2 separate regions of the Homo sapiens genome follow, and region 2 is linked to region 1. Evidence: promoter capture Hi-C in 16 types of primary human blood cells and fetal thymus (Javierre and others, 2016). All regions are on one chromosome and are shown on one strand. The core of a region is centred on a gene start or on the middle of the fragment in contact, and the rest is flanking DNA. Distances in the headings are between cores, read along the strand shown. Region 1 holds the start of TMOD4 (tropomodulin 4). Region 2 overlaps GABPB2 (GA binding protein transcription factor subunit beta 2).

Region 1 (4,236 bases), core at 549-3,048:
CTCCACCTCCTGTGCTCAGGCGATCCTCCCACCTTAGCCTCCCAAGTAGCTGGGAGTACAGCCACACATGCTAATTTTTGTATTTTTTGTAGAGACGGTTTCGCTGTGTTGCCCAGACTCCTGGGTTAAAGTAATCGTCCCGCTTCATCTTCCTAAAATACTGGGATTACAGGTGTGAGCCACCGCGCCCAGCCCAGCTTATTTCTTTCTTATTCCTTTTTCTTTTAGCTTCTCTGTTCTTCTCTTTCCTGTTTTTCCTTCTAGCCTAGCTTTCTTTTCCCATCAGTCACTTAGTACGTTCCTCAGAATGTTCCCAACACCCTGCCTCCTTTTTCTCTTTCCTCATCTCTCTGATTTCCTTCTTTCTTTCTTTTCTTTTTTTTTTTTTTTTGAGATGGAGTCTCGCTGCTCTGTCACCCAGGCTGGAGTGTAATGGCACGATCTTGGTTCCATGCAACCTCCGCCTCCTGGCTTCAAGTGATTCTCCTGCCTCAACCTCCTGAGTAGCTGTGATTACAGGCATCCGCCACCACGCCCGGCTAATTTTTGTATTTTTAGTAGAGACAGGGTTTCACCTTGTTAGTCAGGCTGGTCTCGAACTCCTGACCTCGTCATCTGCCTGCCTCAGCCTCCCAAAGTGCTGGAATTACAGGTGTGAGCCACTGCACCCAGCCTGATTTCCTTCTTTCTGTATCTGTTGTCTTCTCTCCTCAGCTCTTTGTGTTTTTCCTTGTCTTTTGTCCTCAGACTTGATCCTGCTCCCTCGGTGTCTGCATTGACTCCTCATGCTGGGACTGGACCCGTCAACCCCCCTGCTCGCTGCTCACGTACCTTCATCACTTTTAGTGATGATGCAACTTTCGAGGAATGGTTCCCCCAAGGGCGGCCCCCAAAAGTCCCTGTTCGTGAGGTCTGTCCAGTGACCCATCGTCCAGCCCTATACCGGGACCCTGTTACAGACATACCCTATGCCACTGCTCGAGCCTTCAAGATCATTCGTGAGGCTTACAAGAAGTACATTACTGCCCATGGACTGCCGCCCACTGCCTCAGCCCTGGGCCCCGGCCCGCCACCTCCTGAGCCCCTCCCTGGCTCTGGGCCCCGAGCCTTGCGCCAGAAAATTGTCATTAAATGAAGAGATGTCTAGTCCTCAGAAACTTCTTTCCTGCCCTGATTGGGGCTCTTGCTGTTCCGTTTCTTCTCCCTGCTTCTCCCCTTTGTCATCTCTGATCTTTGCCTAATCTGTTTCTTTTTCCTTTTCCCCTAGTTCTTACAGGTTTCGTTGTGTTTTTTAATCTAATAAAATAGAAAGATCCCTTTTGTCTGGTGTCCAGTCTAGGGTTGGGAGCAAGAAGTATTTGAATACCTGCATATATTTGGGTCTTTATTCGATAGCATTTATTATGAGCTGTCCTTTCTAAATTGTATTCATTCCTCCAACTAAATTATAAACATCTGAAAATTGCACACCAAAACACATCCTTGTATTGACCTTCCTATCACTTTACACTCACTGTTTTGAATACAGCAGGCACCAAATAAGGAGGAACTGGCTGATTCTAGTCGAACTCATATGTCTCAGACTGGGGCTTGTATGAAGGGAAGTGGAAGAGATGCCATGGCTGTTAATGACCACTAGAGGCTCTCAGGGCTGGGCAGGGTATGGGGGCTGTGTATATGTGATCTCCCACTACCCCCCACCTGGCCAGAGCTAAAATAATAAAATGCTGAGCTCACTGTTCCCCCACCCTCTCCCCCGGCACCGGGCTCCTCCTGCTGCTGGGACAGTGCTCTAGTAGAACAGACAGACCTACTGACACAGGGGAGGTGAGAAGGGAGGTGACCACCAGGACTGGTAGGTGGGGAAGACAGGGGGCTTATGGATGAGAGCCCGGTGGGAGATGGGAGGAGAAGAGTGGCTCCTATGGGGAATGATGTGGAGTGTGTCCCTGTCTCTGTCACTCAGTGTATATTTCTGCCACTGTGCCGTCCTACCCCTTAACTGTGTATAGTTTACATTGTCGATGTGTCTCACATACTTTCTGGATCTTTCATATTCAGCATGGTGTGTATGCATAGCTCCTTATGCGTATCTTATATTGTACAAAATTGTGCGAGTTTAATATTCCCACTGTTTTTAAAGAAACTTTACCCTATTTACACCCATTGGTCTGGTGTCACCTTCCTGTCCAAAGCAAGGGACAGATTATGGGGACTCACAGAGGCCTTACTACCCTTCCCCCAACCTGGAAGTCCCCCAACTGCTCCGAGCCCTTGCTTTCCCTTAAGACTTCAAATTTTAGCAAACACAGAAAGTGAAATCTTGATCCCCCACAATAAAAGGGAAATGAGGATGGGGTAAGAGACTCTCTCTTCCCCTTACACCTCATTGTCCTTGGTTTTTTTATCCGGTTTAGGAAAAAGCCTGGATTATGAGGAGGAGAGGAGGAATTTCCCTGAAGCTCTCTATTCCCCCACCCCTCATCCCCTTTCAATAGGAACTGGGCATAGGACCAGCTGTGTTGGCAGGGCTTCCAGCAGCTGTGTTAGGGCGAAGGCACTGACAAGTGAGGTTATAGGGGAGGGGTGCTGCCAGGATTTCTCTGTCATACCGTGGGAAGACAAACCCAGCTTAGATGTCTGGGATCCCCATCCAGAGTGGCTGGAAGCTGGGGAAGCAGAAAGGAGACTCTAGTTCTAACTCTAAACAACCTAATCTTCCCCACTTCCCATCCTCAACTAGACTTCTAATCTCCAAGAAATCCAATCCAATGTTCTGCCCCCCTGGCTGGTCTCTTTGTGTCCCTGCTGTGTCCCTGTCCATCTTACCATTGTCCATCCTTTTGTCCCATGTTGCCCAGGCTCTGTGAGTACCACACAGTGGGGAGGGGGTGGGGGCCACCATGTCATCATATCAGAAGGAACTGGAGAAATACAGAGACATAGATGAAGATGAGATCCTAAGGACCTTGAGCCCCGAGGAGCTAGAGCAGCTGGACTGCGAACTACAGGAGATGGATCCTGAGGTAGGGGCTCCAGCACAGGGAACCAGAGGCAGTCCCAGGCATTTGGGAAGGGTGTTGGGCTCTGGGTGGCTGAGAATAGGGTTTGCTACAGGACCTAGGGTCCTAAGAAGGCCAGGGGAAAGGTGTCCGGTGATGTTTTAGGGAGCCCTAGCAGTACCTAGGTCAGAGGGGAGGTCTGACTTGCTCCCCAAAACTCATCCCTAAGAACATGCTCCTGCCAGCTGGACTAAGACAACGTGACCAGACAAAGAAGAGCCCAACGGGGCCACTGGACCGAGAGGCCCTTTTGCAGTACTTGGAGCAACAGGCACTAGAAGTCAAAGAGCGTGATGACTTGGTGCCCTTCACAGGCGAGAAGAAGGGTATGGGGACCCTGACATCCATGCCTCGTAGAACCCAAGTGGCTGTGCTGTCTCTCACTCGTCCCCACTCCAGTTTCCCTCTCACCTTCCAGCTCCTAGTTGCCTAGGGACTCAGATGCCCTGACACTTAAATGCGAGCTTGCACTCTTCAGTTCTTTTTTTTTTCTTTTTGTTTGAGACGGAGTCTCACTCTGTTGCCCAGGCTGGAGTGCAGTGGTGCAGTCTCGGCTCACTGCAAGCTCCACCTCCCGGGTTCACGCCATTCTCCTGCCTCAGCCCCCCGAGTAGCTGGGACTACAGGCGCCCACCACCACGCCCGGCTAATTTTTTAGTATTTTTAGTAGAGATGGGGTTTCACTGTGTTAGCCAGGATGGTCTCGATCTCCTGACCTCGTGATCTGCCCGCCTTAGCCTCCCAAAGTGCTGGGATTACAGGCATGAGCCACCGTGCCCGGCCGCTAATTTTTTGTATTTTTAGTAGAGATGGGGTTTCACCATGTTAGCCAGGATGGTCTCGATCTCCTGACCTCATGATCCACCCGCCTCGGCCTCCCCAAGTGCTGGGATTACAGGCGTGAGCCACAGCGCCCAGCCCCGCACTCTTCAGTTCTTGAGAGATCAGGGGGCTAAGGACTCTTGAGTTTGTAGAGGACTCAGGCTTTCCAGTGTCCCTTCGTGACGCAGCATTCTACCTCCTGGAGGAGGAAGGAAACCTGGAGGCCAGGATCTTGGGAGAAATTACCTCTACCTGAGCCATCCTTCATCTCCCCATCAGGGAAACCCTATATTCAGCCCAAGAGGGAAATCCCAGCAGAGGAGCAGATCACCCTGGAGCCTGAGCTGGAGGA
Region 2 (4,236 bases), core at 875-3,374, 85 kb after region 1:
ATCTCTTGAGCCTGGGAGGTGGAGGCTGCACCACCACACTCTAGCCTGGGTGACAGAGTGAGACCACCGTCTCCAAAAAAAAAAAACAAAAACCATTAATAATAATAATAATAAATTGGAAAACTAGGCTGGGAGCAATGGCTCATGCCTGTAATCCCAGAACTTTGGAAGGCTGAGGATGGAAGGATCACTTGAGGCCAGGAGTCTGAGACCAGCCTGGTCAACGTAGTGAGATCTCATCTGTATTTTTTTTTTAAATATGATTTTAAAAAAATGGCTGGGTGCGGTGGCTCACGCCTGTAATCCCAGCACTTTGGGAGGCTGAGGCGGGTGGATCACGAGGTCAAGGGATGTAGACCATCCTGGCCAACATGGTTAAACCCCATCTCTACTAAAAATATAAAAATTAGCTGGGTGTGGTGGAGCACGCCTGTAGTCCCAGCTACTCCGGAGGCTGAGGCAGGAGAATCGCTTGAACCTGGGAGGCAGAGGTTGCAGTGAGCCAGTATTGCGCCACTGCACTCCAGCCTGGCGACAGAGCAAGACTCCATCTCAAAAAAAAAAAAAAAAAAAAAAAAATTAGAAAACTGGCTAGGCACAGTAACCCCACACCTGTCAGTGTTGGGAGGCTGAGGCAGGAGAATTGCTTGAGGCCAGGAGTGCAAGGCCAGCCTGGGCTGGGCAATACAACGAGACCCTATTCTCTACAAAAAATAAAAACAAAAATAAATTAGCTGGGCATGGTGCTGCATGCCTGTAGTCCTCCCAGCTACTTTGGAGGCTGAGGCAGTAGGATTGCTTGAACCCAGATGTTGAAAACTGCAGTGAGCTATGATCATGCCACTGCTCTCCAGCCAGGACAAAAGAGTGAGACCCTGTCTCAAATTTAAAAAATTGTTTTAGGGCCGGGCGTGGTGGCTCACACCTATAATTCCACCACTTTGGGAGTCCGAGGCAGGCAGATCACAAGGTCAGGAGTTTGAGACCAGCCTGGCCAACACAGTGAAACCCCATCTCTACTAAAAATACAAAAAAAAATTAGCTGAGCATGGTGGTGGGCGCCTGTAATCACAGCTACTTGGGAGGCTGAGGTAGGAGAATCGCTTGAACCCAGGAGGCGAAGGTTACAATGAGCCAAGATTGTGCCACCGCACTCGAGCCTGGGCGATAGTGCGAGACTTCATCTTTTTTTTTTTTTTTTTTTTTTTTTTTTTGAGACACAGGAGTGAGCCACCGCACCCAGCTGAGAGTTCATCTCAAAAAAAAAAAATTGTTTTAATAAATTAGAAAACAGTCAGGTGCGGTGACTCACATCTGTAATCCAAGCACTTTGGGAGGCCAAGGCAGGTGGATCACCTGAGGTCAGGAGTTTGAGACCAGCCTGGGCAACATGGTGAAACCCCGTCTCTACTAAAAATACAAAAATTGGCTGGGTGTAGTGGCGGGCGCCTGTAATCCCAGCTACTCGGGAGGCTGAGGCAGGAGAATCACTTCAACCCAGGAGGCAGAGGTTGTGGTGAGCAGAGATCGTGCCACTGCACTTCAGCCTGGGCCACAAGAGCAAGACTCCTTCTCAAAAATCAAACAAACAAACAAAAAATAAATAAGAAAACAGACTCCTCATAGCCATGAAGGTTTTTTTTTTTGTTTTTTTGTTTTTTTGTTTTGTTTTGTTTTGTTTTGAGACGGATTCTTGCTCTGTTGTCCAGGCTGGAGTGCAGTGGCGTGATCTTGCCTCACCACAACCTCCGCCTCCCAGGTTCAAGCGATTCTCCTGCCTCAGCTTCCTGAGTAGCTGCGATTACAGTCGCGCACCACCACGTCCTGCTAATTTTTTTTTGCTTTTTTTCAGTAGCGATGGGGTTTCACCATGTTGGTCTGGCTGGTCTCGAATTCCTGACCTTGTGATCCACCCGTCTCGGCCTCCCAAAGTGCTGGGATTATAGGCACCCGGCCTGCCATGAAGACTCCTGGAGATGCAACTTAATGCTATAACTGTCCTAAACTTAATCATTCCCAAGTCATTTCCTAGTACCCATTTAAGTAAGAAAACAGGAAAGTGGATGCCTTTTTAACAACATAACCTTGCCCCTATTCTTGCTTTACCCGAACAAGCAGTTCCACGATGTGCGCATGTCCATCGGCTGCAGCCATGTGCAAGGGGGTCCTGTCTACTTTAGTCCGGGCATCCCTGCTAACACCTGCTCGAAGGAGTACTTCTGCTGTGGAATAATGACCATATTGAGCTGCAAGGTGGAGGGGTGATGTTCCAAGCTGTGGAAAAATAATGCTCATTGAATATCCACTGTGTGCAGAGTCCTAGATCGTTACTGGAGAGATACAAATGAACAAGCTATGGTTCTTGTCCTTCAAGAGAGAATCTGGTTGGGCAGATAAAACTGAAAAAATGCTTAAATTTACAAATTAAAGGCCAGGGGCCAGGTGCACTGGCTCACACCTGTAATCCTAGCACTTTGGGAGGCCAGGGTGGGCAGATCACCTGAGGTCAGGAGTTCAAGACTCTTCTGGCCAACATGGTGAAACCCCGTCTCAACTAAAAAATACAAAAAAAGTTAGCCAGGCGTGGTGGTGGGCACCTGTAATCCCAGCTACTCAGGAGGCTGAGGCAGGGAGAATTGCTTTGAACCTGGGAGGCAGAGGTTGCAGTGAGCTGAGATTGTGCCACTGCACTCCAGCCTGGGCGACAGAGTGAAACACCGTCTCAAAAAAAAAAAAAAATTAACATGCTAATGGACAAATAAATATACCACCAATTGAATAAGTACTAAGTATAATGGCTTTATGTCAGGTGGATTTATCAGTTAAGATTCCCTAAAGGACGTGACTTTACGCAACGTCTAGAAGGTTAAAACAAACAAAAAAAGGATCAGGCTGGATGTGGTGGCTCATGCCTGCAATCCCAGCACTTTGGGAGGTCAAGGCAGGAGGACTGCTTGAGCCCAAGAGATCAAGACCAGCCTGGGCAACACAGAGAGACCTTATCTCATAATAAATTAAAAAATAAATAAATAAAGTAAATTTTAAAAAAGAAAAAGGGTAGAGACTAGAAAGTTACATGTGGAATTTGAGGTACAAATTTGACTGACTGGAAGAAAAGTTTTTTGCCACAGTAAAGCAGGGCAAAATGAATGATGAGATGAAGACGCAATAAAAATTTAGCAATGATGTATCAACAGCAATAAGTAAGTCTGTCATCCCAGTGTAAATCTTGTAAGAGTTATCTATCAGCATCCACTTTGGCCAGAGCTCTATTCCCTTCTTTTTGTTATGCTCTTTATTTTAAGCCTGTTTAGTTTATTCTTTGCTTTTTCATATATTTAGCCTCTCTGCCTGACTGAATTTAATTCACATTGTTCTTTCCAGGTCTATTTATAGAAATGCTAATTTCATGGGTTTCCTTTTCTTTCTTTTTGTGAAATGCTAATAATCTGTTGGCCTCTCAATTAATCAGTCCAGAATAGAGGTCACTCATTCATTGAAATTGTTAAAATTAGGCAATGTGTACAAAATCTGTGACTGCTAAGAAAGCCCACATTATAACTTGGACCTGTTTCTTCTGAAAGTCTTTGGTCTCCAAGATGGTTGAGGCTAAATTACACCTTCCTCTTTAATGTTTTTTGAACAGTGGTAAAGGAAACAAAACAGCTAGATGACTTCTTTTTTTTTTTTTGAAACAGAGTTTCCAAGCTGTAGTGCAATGGTGCAATCTCCGCTCACTGCAACCTCCACCTCCCGAGTTCACGCGATTCTCCTGCCTCAGCCTCTCAAGTAGCTGGGATTACAGGCGTGCGCCACCATGCCCAGCTAATTTTTTGTATTTTTAGTAGAAACGGGTTTCACCATGTTAGCAGGCTGGTCTCGAACTCCTGACCTCAGGTGATCCGCCCGCCTTGGACTCCCAAAGTGCTGGGATTACAGGCGTGAGCCACCACGCTCAGCCTAGACAATTTCTTATTAACCAGGGCATATTAGAGAAAAGGAAACAAGGAATTTATTAGTCTAGGAATGCATTCTTATTATATTGATTTTGTTTAATTTCTAGCTAATTACAGAAGCCTATAACCCAAGTACACTCCAGAGACAGTTAAACCTTTAGAAAATACTCTAAAAAACATTATAGAAAATCACAAGTATATAATACCTTACAATTATCACCTATATATCCACAGGAGACTCTCAATTTGGAAAACTAAAAGAAAAAGAAAACCACATATT

Evidence for each region. The method cuts DNA at HindIII sites, captures the fragments that hold promoters and counts their contacts. A CHiCAGO score of 5 or more calls a contact.
Region 2: a fragment that was not itself captured here is called in contact with the fragment with the promoter of TMOD4 in region 1 in 1 of 17 cell types (megakaryocytes); the score reaches 5.6 in megakaryocytes.

What each region holds. Positions count from the first base shown.
Region 1 is chr1:151,173,543-151,177,778 of GRCh38, reverse strand. TMOD4 (tropomodulin 4) reads left to right here and starts at 1,798. Exons shown (of 10, transcript NM_013353.3): 1 at 1,798-1,855; 2 at 2,862-3,026; 3 at 3,232-3,388; 4 at 4,164-4,236. The coding sequence starts at 2,904. VPS72 (vacuolar protein sorting 72 homolog) reads left to right here. Exons shown (of 6, transcript NM_005997.3): 6 at 748-1,475. The coding sequence ends at 1,135. The HindIII fragment of the contact is 8,410 bases long and covers 1-4,236 here.
Region 2 is chr1:151,088,444-151,092,679 of GRCh38, reverse strand. GABPB2 (GA binding protein transcription factor subunit beta 2) reads right to left here. Exons shown (of 9, transcript NM_144618.3): 3 at 2,107-2,274. Among named protein-coding and RNA genes, the nearest start is that of GABPB2, 20 kb to the right of the region's middle. The HindIII fragment of the contact is 4,511 bases long and covers 1-4,236 here.